Regions from separate parts of the Homo sapiens genome. Here regions 2 and 3 are each linked to region 1. The links are contacts of gene promoters, found by promoter capture Hi-C in blood cells and fetal thymus (Javierre and others, 2016). All regions are on one chromosome and are shown on one strand. The core of a region is centred on a gene start or on the middle of the fragment in contact, and the rest is flanking DNA. Distances in the headings are between cores, read along the strand shown. Region 1 holds the start of PAK4 (p21 (RAC1) activated kinase 4). Region 2 has its middle 23 kb from the start of LGALS16. Region 3 holds the start of LGALS16 (galectin 16).

Region 1 (3,926 bases), core at 429-2,928:
AGAAAAAAGATAGGTAAACATAAAGAAAAATTAACTCATCATTCAATCATTCATTCATTGTTGCCACCGACATTAGTAGAAATTAATTAAATGCCTACTATGTGGCTGTTCTGGGGCAGAGGAGAAGCACCAAACATTTAAGAGTATCTCTGAAGGGGTGGAATTACCACGCATTCAAACAGCCCTTCCACCAATGTTTACTGAGCATCTACATGCCAACAGTGCTGGGGCACTGGGAATGCAGCAGTGAACAAAGACAGAAATCCATGTTGTCATGGGGCTGACATTCCAGCAGAGGAGACAACCAACAAGCAATAACTACAATTAGGAGTGAGAAATAAGAACAAAGCAGACAGAGTTTGGTAGTATGTGAGAGGGATGTTTGCTGCTTTCCTTAGGGTGAGCGAGGGAATTAGTTCACAGAGAAAGTGACATCTGTGTAAAGCCCTGAAAAAAGGGAGGGAGAGATAAGGATACCTGGGGGAAGAGTATGTTCCAGGCAGAGGAACAACCAGTGCAAAGACTGTGAGGTGAGAGCGCACCTGACAAGAGTTCAGGAACAGCATGAAGGCTGGAGTCCAGTGAATAAGATCCAGGAGGAGAGATGTCTGGCCGGGCGCAGTGGCTCACGCCTGCAATCCCAGCACTTTGGGAGGCCGAGGCAGGAGTATAGTTTGAGCCCAGGAGTTCGAGACCAGCCTGGCCAACACAACAAAACTCTCTCTTTAAAAATAAAAGAAAAAGGCCAGCTTGGTGGCTCACACGTGTAATCCCAGCACTCTGGGAGGCCGAGGCGGATAGATCACCTGAGGTCAGGAGTTCGACCTGGCCAACATGGTGAAACGCTGTCTCTACTAAAAATACAAAAAATTAGCTGGGTGTGGTGGTGGACGCCTGTAATTCCAGCTACTCAGGAGGCTGAGGCAGGAGAATCTCTTGAACCCGGGAGGCGGAGGTTGCAGTGAGCTGAGATCGCGCCATTGCACTCCAGCCTGGGCAACAAGAGCGAAACTCTATCTCAAGACAAATAAATAAGTAAAAATAAAATTTAAAAAAATTTTTAAAGAAGATGTCTGCTGTTTGTTTTCAATATTTTGACCAATTACTTCGTAAAAACTTATTTAAAAATTGAAGAGCAAACAGTCTCAGGTTCCCGGGCTCAGACAGACCAGCGTTCAAAACTCATTACCTTCTTTCTATGATGCTAAGCCAGCTATTTCACCCTCTGAACCTCTGTTTCTTTATCTGTAAAATGGGTATTAATGATATTATACCACAGGGTTGTATATGCAGCGAGAAAATGCAAGTAAAACACTTATCCCGGTGCCTGCCTCCTAGTAAGTGCTTAAGAACTGTTTCTGCCCATTAACTCATTACTTTCTCCCAGCCCCTAACTCCTTCTGGGGGGGAAGTTAGAAAATCGGTATCACACGAAAACAGTCATTTCCCCTTTAAGGACCTCAGTGGGCCGGGAGCCAGCCTTCCCGCACCTTTTCCAAAATTTCCAATCCCCGCTTGGCATTTTCTGCCCGAAGGTCTCCGATTGGACGCTCTGTACCAATCGGAGGCTGGAGCGGGCCCTGAGAGGCGCCCGACTCCGCCCCCGCACTGGCCCTGCCCACTGCCCGGTCAGCCTCGTTGCTATGGGGACTGGTGGGCGGTGAGGGGGGAAAGCCCCGGATGTTCGTTGGGGATTCAACATGGCGGCGGGAGTGTCCGCGGTGGTGGCGGTGCAAGAGAGCTGAGGGAGGCGCGAGGGCGCGGAGTTCCAGGTCGAGCAGTTAGGCCGCGAGCGACTGCGGCGCCGAGCCGGTAGGATAAGGGGTCCGGCCAGGGGCTTGCGGTGGGCCGGGCGCTGGCGGCGGGACGGCGTTTCCGCGAGGAGGGGGGCGGGGCCGCCGGGGTCAAAGGTCACTGGTGGAGGGAAGGGTCGCGTCCGAGGGGTCGGGGGTTAACGCAGACTGGAGGGAGTTGTAGTGGAGGTCGGAGATCAAACCAGCGAAGGGGGCGTGGCGAAGGGGAGTGCAAAGTTTGAAATTCGAAGTGGGGGCGCGTTCGAGGGGTTCTGGGCGAGTCTCAAAAAAGGCAGGGTCAAAGTTAATAATTTGAGGGAAGGCTGCCCCCACGAGGGTCAGAGGTCACAGCCCCAGGGGCGCCAGGTTGGAGGTTTAAAGCTGCCCCTAGCGGAGCAGATGAATGAGTTTTAGGTTCGGGGGCGTCTTTTAGGGGTTCAAAGCTGGGGCGTGCCTAGAAGGTACAAAGGTGAGAATCTGACAGCGGGGCAGCTGTTTCCCAGAGTCAAAAATTAAAACCCAAGGAGGGCGTATTGCGGGGGACGGGGGGGGGGGGGGGGGCCGGGTCAGAGATGCTTCCTGGTGACAGGAGAAGGGGGAACCCTCCCACAAATAATAATGGCAAACACTCATGAAACACTATGGGCTAGACCCTCTTTTTAACGCTTTACTTGTATGAGCTTATTCAGTCCTCACTATAGTCTTAGGGGGTCTTAACCTGGTATTAAGAGGTTAAGTGATTTGCACAAGGTCACCCGATGCATAAGTTGTGCGCTGGGATTCTAACTCCGGAGTTCTGGCCCAGAGCCCTGCTCTGGCCGACCGCCTCTCAAATCATCATAATGTCGGTTAATGTTTAATGAGGGCTCACACTGTGCTCCACGCCCTGTGTGCCCGGTCGTATTTCACTCCTGCTGCAATCTTGTGAAGTGAGTGCTCAAGATGAACCTACTTTACAGACGGGAAAAATGAGGCTCAGAAGCTTCTGCTGAAGGCAGAGTTAGAATCGAAGCTGGGCCTGGGTGATTCCAGGGCTCCTGCCCCTGGTCGCCACATTGTCCGCTGCCAGCCATTAGGTCTCTCCTGGAAGCAGGGGGCTGGGCAGGGCTGGGCCACTCCCTGGGCGGATCGGATTGTCTGCTTGGTTTCCTTGGAAGGGTGTGATCTGGCAGGGAAGATTCCTGTGAGCCTATGGGAGTAGGGTGTTTGTAGGTGGTCTGGAGTCCGAGCAAGGGAGTCCGACGGGCTTCTGACTGGGGAGAGTGTCCCTGGGTGGTACCCTGGGCAGAGCGGGGTGTTCACTGTTCTTAAAACCCTAAGCTCTCACTGTGGTCCTTAGTCACTCCCACCTCACTTCTTATGGCTCTGCCCATTTCTCCCCAGCCCCTTTACTGTTCTCCAACTCCAGGCCCATGCCTCCCGCCCGGTCTTTGACCTTCCTGTTCCTTCTGCTGGGAATCCTTTCCCCACCCTGCCCTCTCTCACTGACGGGTCGCTCACTCTCAGCTGGCCCGGGACCACCCTGGCTCGCCTTGCTGCAGGCTCTTTTTCTCTCATCTGACCAGCCCTTACCTCCCTCCTTACCTTAATTATTAGGGTGCATGGTGGAATTGCTCTGTGGGGTTCCTTGCCTCGGTCCCCACTGAAGCCCTGCCTGGCCTGCAGAGGATGTGACATTGCTGGGGGTTGACTGTTGGGCACTGTGCCGGGTGCTGGGAGTGTGGCAGGGGACGAGATCCACAGAGCCCCTAGCCTCAGAGGGCACTCAGTTCCCTGGTGGGAGCAGAGTGGAACCAGCCCCCAAGCCAGTGACACAAGACTGCGTCTCTGCAAACGGTGATGTGGCTTGCGAGGGCATCTTCAGAGAGCCGGGAGAGTGCCCCTACCCTGGGCTGAAGCCTGAGTCCCTTTCCCCTGGGAAGGCTCTGAAGGATGGGGAGGAGGGCTGGGAATGGGCTTACCAGGCAGGAGGAGCAGTGTGTGCAGAGGCCCTGGCATGACTGGAGGTCAGGACTCGGGTGCACAGTTGGGGATCTGGGCAACACGTAGCCTGTGCAGGTTCAGGGCAAGACGCTGAGGGGACTCAGCTTTGGAGGGACGGTGGGAGCAGGGGAGGGCTGAGGAGTACCTGTA
Region 2 (3,926 bases), core at 1,039-3,538, 550 kb after region 1:
ATGGTCTTAACAAATGCCAGATTACAAAGTGAATGCTCTGATAGTTGGATAACTCAGCTTCCTAATATCATAACTTGCTTTAAAAAACTACAGTAATCAAAATGCATTCATACCAGCTTAAAGATAAGCCTATAGACCAGTGGAACAGAATTGAGAGTCAAAATAAATCTAAACATCCATCGTAAGTTGATTTCCACAAGGGTGCCAAGATCATTCAATGTGGGAACAAATTGTCTCCTGAATAAATGGTTTTTGGTTTTTGTGGGGTTTTTTGTTTGTTTGTTTTTAACTTTTATTTTAAGTTCAGGAGTACATGTGCAGGATGTGCAGGCTTGTTATACACGTAAACCTGTCATGGAGGTTTTTTGTACTGAATATCCACATGTAAAAGAATGAATCTGGACCCTCACCTTATACTATATACAGAAATTAACTCAAAATGGATCAACAACCCAAATTTAAGAGATAAAACTGCCAAATATGGGCCAGGCATGGTGGCTCACACCTTTAATCCCAGCACTCTGGGAGGCCGAGGAGGGTGGATCACGAGGTCAGGTTCCTGGCTAACACGGTGAAACCCCGTCTTTACTAAAAATACAAAAAATTAGCGGGGCATGGTGGCGGGTGCCTGTAGTCCCAGCTACTCGGGAGGCTGAGGCAGGAGAATGGCGTGAACCCAGGAGGCAGAGCTTGCAGTGAGCCGAGATCACACCACTGCACTCCAGCCTGGGCAACAGAGCAAGACTCCATCTAAAAAACGCCACCCTTGTATCTTAAAGTCCCTCATGACTGTACTACTCTGTGCAGGCCCTCCAAGAATGCGGTGTTGCTTTTGCTTTCCTATTTTTGTAGGTGGAAGCAGCTCTAATGGCTTCCATTGCCCTTTCCTACTATCACATTCCTCCCTGCACAGGTCAGACAACCAATGTGGGATTCTGCCATTTGCTGAGTGTGTCCATTCCACTTCTGCAACCTGACACTGAGCAAATAAGCAGAGGATGGATGTGGGGCCAACTGGGCAGTGCCAGGTGCTTCCAGTGCTTTCACTTTCACATAATTCCAGCTGAACTTGGAACCGACTTAAAAACAGGATTTGATTCCCCTTTCACTTCTACTTATGAAGACATCAATAGATTTCCAGGAAATCCCACGTGGAGAGGAAACTGATTTTGTAATTCACTGCTTGAGTCTGATGCATACTCTCTAGTTAGTATTTCAGACACAAATCACAGGAACAATATTTGCTGCTTGAGGAAACAGCTATGAAGACACTGAGAGTAGATACAGAGTGTCTTGCCTGCCCTAGGTGAACTGGCAGGAAATAAGAATCTCTGTGTCCCTGGTTGCTTTAGGAAAGTAGAAACCTATAGAGACTAGGAGAACTTTCTATAGGTGTGAGAAAGTGTGTGAGGAAAAGAGGAGGATAGTGGACAGCATAGAGATTTCTGGACTGAGACGGGATTTCGGGCGTGAATAACTGAGTGAGTAGCAGCGTGGAAGGGGCTGTGTCTGAGCTGAGCAGGGCTGAGTGGGAACTGCGCTCTCTACACTGAAACAGAGTAGGGACCTCATGGGGGCTCCCTTCCCCTATTTGGACTCCAAAGTGCACAGGTGCCTCCGCTCGACCAGGAAAAAGAAGAGGGAAATTCATATGCTCTCTGCCCTCAGTTCAGGAATGGGGGATGAACCATCCCATTTCTGGAAATGTTGAGACCCAGACTTAGCAAAGGCTAATTTGTTGATTTAAAGAGTGCTCATAGATGACCATGCCCTTCTACCATCCTCCTTTCTGACTTAGAATGGGAAAAGTCATGTCATAGAGGAGGAGCTGTGGGCTCAAATAGTGGACAAGGCAGTCAGTACTTTGCAGAGTGTCAATCTTGGTCAGAGATGGATGCAAGGCAAACCCTTTGACCAGGGCACACAATGACATGGCTTCATGAGAAGCATGGAGGCTGAAGTGCACAACTTCCCACCCTCACTCCATCATCCTCATCTGTGCCTTCCCTGGCGATTCCCTGCCCCTTGGTGTGACCCTCCGTGTCGTTTCTGCTGCAGCACAGTCACAGGCCTGAAAACTGAAACTGAGTCTATTTCTGCCACCCCTACTCACGCTGCTGAGAAATCTTCCTGGCAGGGGTTCAGAGAAAGAAATAAAGCCAGAGGGCAGGGCCAAGAGGGACTATTTAAGTGCTGCAAATCAGAGACTCACACAGAAGACCAGATACTATTCTGAAGAACTACACAGAGGGAGACAACAATGTCATCACTAAAAGTAAGTCAAAAGACACAGCCTTTAATAAACTCAATTCACATAAACCAAGAAAGAATCAGGGGTGATTTCACAAGACGAAAGTATGAGAGTTTCTCTTGTGAACACTTTACTGAGAGTTGTGGGTGTGTGAAAGAGAAACCGTGCGGCTATGATATCTGAGATGCTGGTGGAGTGTGGGGTGTGGACTCTGAACCAGTGTAACCGTCTGTGAGTGCATGGTGGTGTCTGATGAGAGTAACCTCTGCTGAGATGATGTGACTTTAGGTGGGAGGTGAACAGCCCACCAGGGTGGGCGGGTGTGTGCCTGAGTGTAAGGGTGTAACTGCGTTTTGTCTTCTTGACTGTGATGTGAGTGTGTGTGTGAGCACAGCTGGACCAGTGTGTGAGCATCTTTATATGCACAGTGAGCAGGTGTGTGAGACTCAGTGAGTGGCATGGCTCTGTGAGACTATGGGTGAGTGTGTGCTGGGATGTGACTGGGTGTTGAACTGGGAGCATGCAAGGGGCCTTCTGTGCATGTAAAGTTTCCTCCCAACACAGCAGCGCCTCTGATGAAGCAGCTGGGCACTTCCCATGTGTCAGTGTGTGTCCCATGTGTGAACAGTGTGGGTGGCAGAACTGGTGCGCCTGTTGTGAGCCATGAGTTATGGAGGAGTCATCTCTGAGCAGAATGCGTGAATCCTCAGGTGCCTCCTCCCAAGCAGAGTGGGGAAAAGGAACACAGACTATGGGGCCGATGGTTCCTCAGGTGGGGTCTGTCCAGAAAGGCCATCTGCTCCTGCCTCCAGCCTCAGGTCTCTCTGTCTCCCAGCCTGTCCATCCCATTGTGGGAGAAGAGGGTGAGCAGATCCTGGCTCACTAGGGAAGGCCTTTGGGGGATGTGGGTTCGGAGACTGAGTCGCCCAAAATAGAGAAGGAATCAGTTTATTCTTAGTTCATACAGAGCTTACAGTGCATATTAATCAATAACTTGCCAGGGTTTGTGGCTCATGCCTGTGATCCCAGTGGTTTGGGAGGCCAAGGTGGAAGGATCGCTTAAGGTGAGGAGTTTCAGACCAGCCTGGGCAACGTAGTGAGACCCTGTCTGTACCCAGAATTTAAAGATTATCCAAGCATGTTGGTGTGCACCTTCATTCACAACTACTCAGGAGGTTTTGGCAGGCGGATCACTTGAGTCCAGGAGTTTGAGGCCACAGTGAGCTGTGACCATGCCACTGCAATCCAGGCTGGGCAACAGAGTAAGATCCTGTATCAAAAAGACCCCAAACCCCAACACCAAACAGAGAAATGAAAATCAAACAATATTTAGATTACCTCCAATGACTTCCCTGGCCCACACTCTTCATGTGTGCAGGTACTGGGGCTGTGCTGCCAGCAAGGTGTCCCCTTCTGGAAAGGACGTCCATGGCCCTTGATGATTGTGATGCACACGGGGGTTTCCAGTTCTTTTAGCATTTCTCTCTCTCTTTCAACAAGTGTTGTTTCTCACTGGAGTGAATCTCTCTACTCTTACATCCTCACATCTTGTTTTCACAGCTTCAGTGTTGAAAATAATCACAGGTCGGTGTTCCAGAAGCAACCTCCCTGTTCTAATGGGTAACCCCCAACAGGCTTCATGCATGGCAGAGATTAGGGCAAAACTTTCACATAT
Region 3 (3,926 bases), core at 813-3,312, 530 kb after region 1:
CAAGGCTACAGTAACCAAAACAGCATGATACTGGTACCAAAACAGATATATAGACCAATGGAACAGAATGGAGCCCTCAGAAATAACACCACACATCTATAACCATCTGATCTTTGATAAACCTGACAAAAACAAGAAATGAGGAAAGGATTCCCTATTTAATAAATGGTGCTGGGAAAACTGGCTAGCCATATGTAGAAAGCTGAAATTGGACCCCTTCCTTACACCTTATACAAAAATTAATTCAAGATGGATTAAAGACTTAAATGTTAGACCTAAAACCATGAAAACCCTAGAAGAAAACCTAGGCAATATCATTTAGGATGTAGGCATAGGCAAGGACTTCATGACTAAAACACCAAAAGCAATGGCAACAAAAGCCAAAATTGACAAATGGATCTAATTAAACTAAAGAGCTTCTGCACAGCAAAAGAAACTACCGTCAGAGTGAATAGGCAACCTACAGTATGGGAGAAAATTTTTGCAATCTACCCATTTGACAAAGGGCTAATATCCAGAATCTACAAAGAACTTAAACAAATTTACAAGAAAAAAACAAACAACCCCATCAAAAAGTGGGCAAAGGATATGAACAGACACTTCTCAAAAGAAGACATTTATGCAGCCAACAAACACAGGAAAAAATGCTTATCATCACTGGTCATTAGAGAAATGCAAATCAAAACTACATTGAGATACCATCTCACACCAGTTAGAATGGCGATCATTAAAAAGTCAGGAAACAACAGATGCTGGGGAGGATATGGAGAAATAGGAACGCTTTTACACTGTTGGTGGGAGTGTAAACGAGCTCAACCATTATGGAAGACAGTGTGGCCATTCCTCCAGGATCTAGAACTAGAAATATCATTTGACCCAGCATCCCATTACTGGGTATATACCCAAAGGATTATAAATCATGCTACTATAAAGACACATGCACACGTATGTTTATTGCAGCACTGTTCACAATAGCAAAGACTTGGAACCAAACCAAATCCTTCAATGATAGACTGAATTAAGAAAATGTGGCACATATACACCATGGAATTCTATGCAGCCATAAAAAAGGATGAGTTCATGTCCTTTGCAGGGAGATGGATGAAGCTGGAAACCATCATTCTGAACAAACTATCACTAGCACAGAAAACCAAATACCGCATGTTCTCACTCATAGGTGGGAATTGTACAATGAGAGCACTTGGACACATGGCAGGGAACATCACACATGGGGGACTATCATGGGGTGGGGGGCAGGGGGATGGATAGCATCAGGATAAATAATGTAAATGACGAGTTAATGGGTGCAGCAAACAAACATGGCACATGTATACCTGTGTAACAAACCTGCACATTGTGCACATGTACCCTGGAACTTAAAGTATAATAATAATTTTTTTTAAATCTCACCTTTCTCCCAGAATCTGCAGAAGAAACAGTCTCCCTCAAACTTTGATTTACATGGACACCAACAGAGGGTGTAGCTAGAGCCCAAGTGTGTGACAGTCAGATGAAAGTGGCCCTTACCTAGCAAAGCCAAGTGGCTTAGTGTGGGGCAGGTTCATGCAAGAAATTTCTCTACTTCTCTCTGCAGATCCTCCTCAGGATCAAGGTCAGTGCTCTCCCAGAACATTTAAAGGCAGAGAGAAGAATTACCTTTTAGGGCTAACTTGTTTCCCCCAAAATCTCCAACTTTTTTTTTCTTGTTTAGCCATTGTACAAAATTGGGAAAATGTACACCTTCTGGGTAGATTCTGCATAGTGGAGAAAAGGCTTGAGAGGCACAAAGGCTGGGCTTTACAATCACTACCCCTCACTCCATCATCCTTATCTATGCATTTCCCTGGTAACCCAATCCACAGTCTGGTACCTTCCCCAATGTCATTTCTGCTGCATTACAGACACAGACTTGCAAATAGTTATGGTTGTGACTGAGTTTCTTCGTGACACCTGACCCTTTCTCATGCTGCAAGGAAAGCTTGCTGGGAGGAGCATGGAATCTGGAATGATGCCAGAGGGCAAAGCTGAAAGGGGTCATTTAAGTGCTGCAACTCAGAGATTCACTCAGAAGACTGGACACAATTCCGAAGGTCGCCCAGAAGGAGAGGACAATGTCATTTCTAACTGTGAGTTGAAAAGGCACAGCCTTCAATAATCTCAAGTCACACAAAACCAAGAAAGATGTGGGGTATTTTATGAGATGAAAATATGAGCATTCCTACTGTGAATGCTTTACTGAGAGTTGTGGGTGTGTGGAAGAGAAACACTGAGGCTGGGTATCTGAGATGCTTGTAGCATGTGGGTTGTGGATCCTGGACAAATGTAACCCTCTGTGAGCATGAGGTGGTATCTGATGAGAGTGAACTCTGATGAGATGATGTGACTTTAGGTGGGAGGTGGATGGCACACCAGGTCAAGCAGGTGTTTGTGTGAGTGTAAGGGGGGTGATTGTACTTTGTCTTCCTCTTTGTGATGTGAGTGTGTGTTAGCACAGCCAGACCAGTGCATGGTCATCTTTATGTGCGCAGTGAGCAGGTGTGTGTAACTCAGTGAGTGGCATGGCTCTGTGTGACTGTGGGTGTGTGTGCTGGGATGTGACTGAGTATTGAAGGGAAAACACGCATGTGGCCTTCTGTGCATGTGAAGGTTCCTCCCCACACAACAGCACTTCTGATGAAGGAACTGTGTGTCTTTTCATGTGTGGCAATGTGGATCCCAGGTGGCTTAACTGGTAGGGATCTTGGAGATTGTGAGTTACCAAGGACTTGTTTCAGATCACTTATGAGAGCAGAATGTATGATCAGTAGATGTCTCTTCCCAGTAAGAGTGGGGAAGAGGAATGGAGACTATGGGGGTGATGGATCCTCAGGTGGGGTCTGCACAGAGTGACCACTGTCTCTTGCCTCCCAGGCTCAGCTTCCCTGTCCCCAGCCTATCCTGTCCTTTTCATTGTGGGACAGGAGGTTTGCTAGAGAAGGATATTAGAGGCCATGGTTTCAGAGACTGAATCACGTAAAATATCCACTGTAAGCTATGTCTCAACTGAGTCTAAACTTGTTCCTCCACCCATGAAGGAACAAGTCTAGTCTCAGTTCAGACAGAGCTTACAGTGGATATTAATCAACAAAGCAGCTGGGTTCACTGGCTCACGGCTATAATCCCACCAATCTGAGAGACAAAGATGAGAGGATAACTTGAGGCCAGAAGTTTGAGGCCAGTCTGGGTATCATAGTGAGACCCTTTCTTTAAAAAACTTTAAATATCAGACTGCCAGAGTGGCAGGCACCTTTTGCCCCAGCTACACAAGAGGGGGCAGATGTGTGAGGATCACTGCAGCCCAGGAGTTCAACGTTTCAATGAGCTATGATCGCACCACTGCATGTCAGCCTGGGCAACAGAGCAAGACCCTATCTCAAAAATACAGAAAAATCATCAACCACTTGTAGTCATTGTAGAAATCAATCATTCCCTCCAGTTATGTCCCTGACCCACAGGCTTCACTTGTGCAAGTACTGGGGCTGTGCTGTCAGTAATGTGTGCCACTTCTTGGAAGGACGTCCATTGCCCTTGATGATTGTGAGAGTTGAAAATAAGGCAGATCAGTGTTTCAGGAGGACTCCCCTGTTCTGTTAGGTCACCCCTAACAGGCCCTACACATGCCAGGGATTAGGGTAAAAGTTTTACATGTATTAACTGCTCTATTATGGAGAACTTCCTACACAGTAGGAATTCATGATAATCCTCCTTGTTTTAGGGAAACTGAGGAAGTCAAGTAACCGATCTAAGATTGCACTGCTAGTAAGAGGCAGAATGAGGACTGGAATCCAGGCTTCTTGGCTCCTGAACCCTTGCTCTTACCTATGGGTCCACCATACCTTCAGGAATGTGGGGCCCTGACTGTGGTAGAGTGAATGGGGAGAGTCCAC

What was found. Contacts are between HindIII fragments. The CHiCAGO score rates a contact against its expected background, and 5 or more counts as called.
Region 2: a fragment that was not itself captured here is called in contact with the fragment with the promoter of PAK4 in region 1 in 2 of 17 cell types (naive B cells and total B cells); the score reaches 12.4 in naive B cells.
Region 3: the fragment with the promoter of LGALS16 here is called in contact with the fragment with the promoter of PAK4 in region 1 in 11 of 17 cell types (naive B cells, total B cells, activated CD4 T cells and 8 more); the score reaches 12.5 in naive B cells.

What each region holds. Positions count from the first base shown.
Region 1 is chr19:39,124,108-39,128,033 of GRCh38, forward strand. PAK4 (p21 (RAC1) activated kinase 4) reads left to right here and starts at 1,679. Exons shown (of 10, transcript NM_005884.5): 1 at 1,679-1,812. The HindIII fragment of the contact is 5,933 bases long and covers 1-2,773 here.
Region 2 is chr19:39,677,160-39,681,085 of GRCh38, forward strand. It overlaps the pseudogene LGALS17A. Among named protein-coding and RNA genes, the nearest start is that of LGALS16, 23 kb to the left of the region's middle. RefSeq lists an enhancer at 770-1,064. The HindIII fragment of the contact is 6,903 bases long and covers 1-3,926 here.
Region 3 is chr19:39,653,851-39,657,776 of GRCh38, forward strand. It overlaps LGALS16 (galectin 16), which reads left to right and starts at 2,063. Exons shown (of 4, transcript NM_001190441.3): 1 at 2,063-2,126. The coding sequence starts at 2,112. The HindIII fragment of the contact is 3,782 bases long and covers 1,977-3,926 here.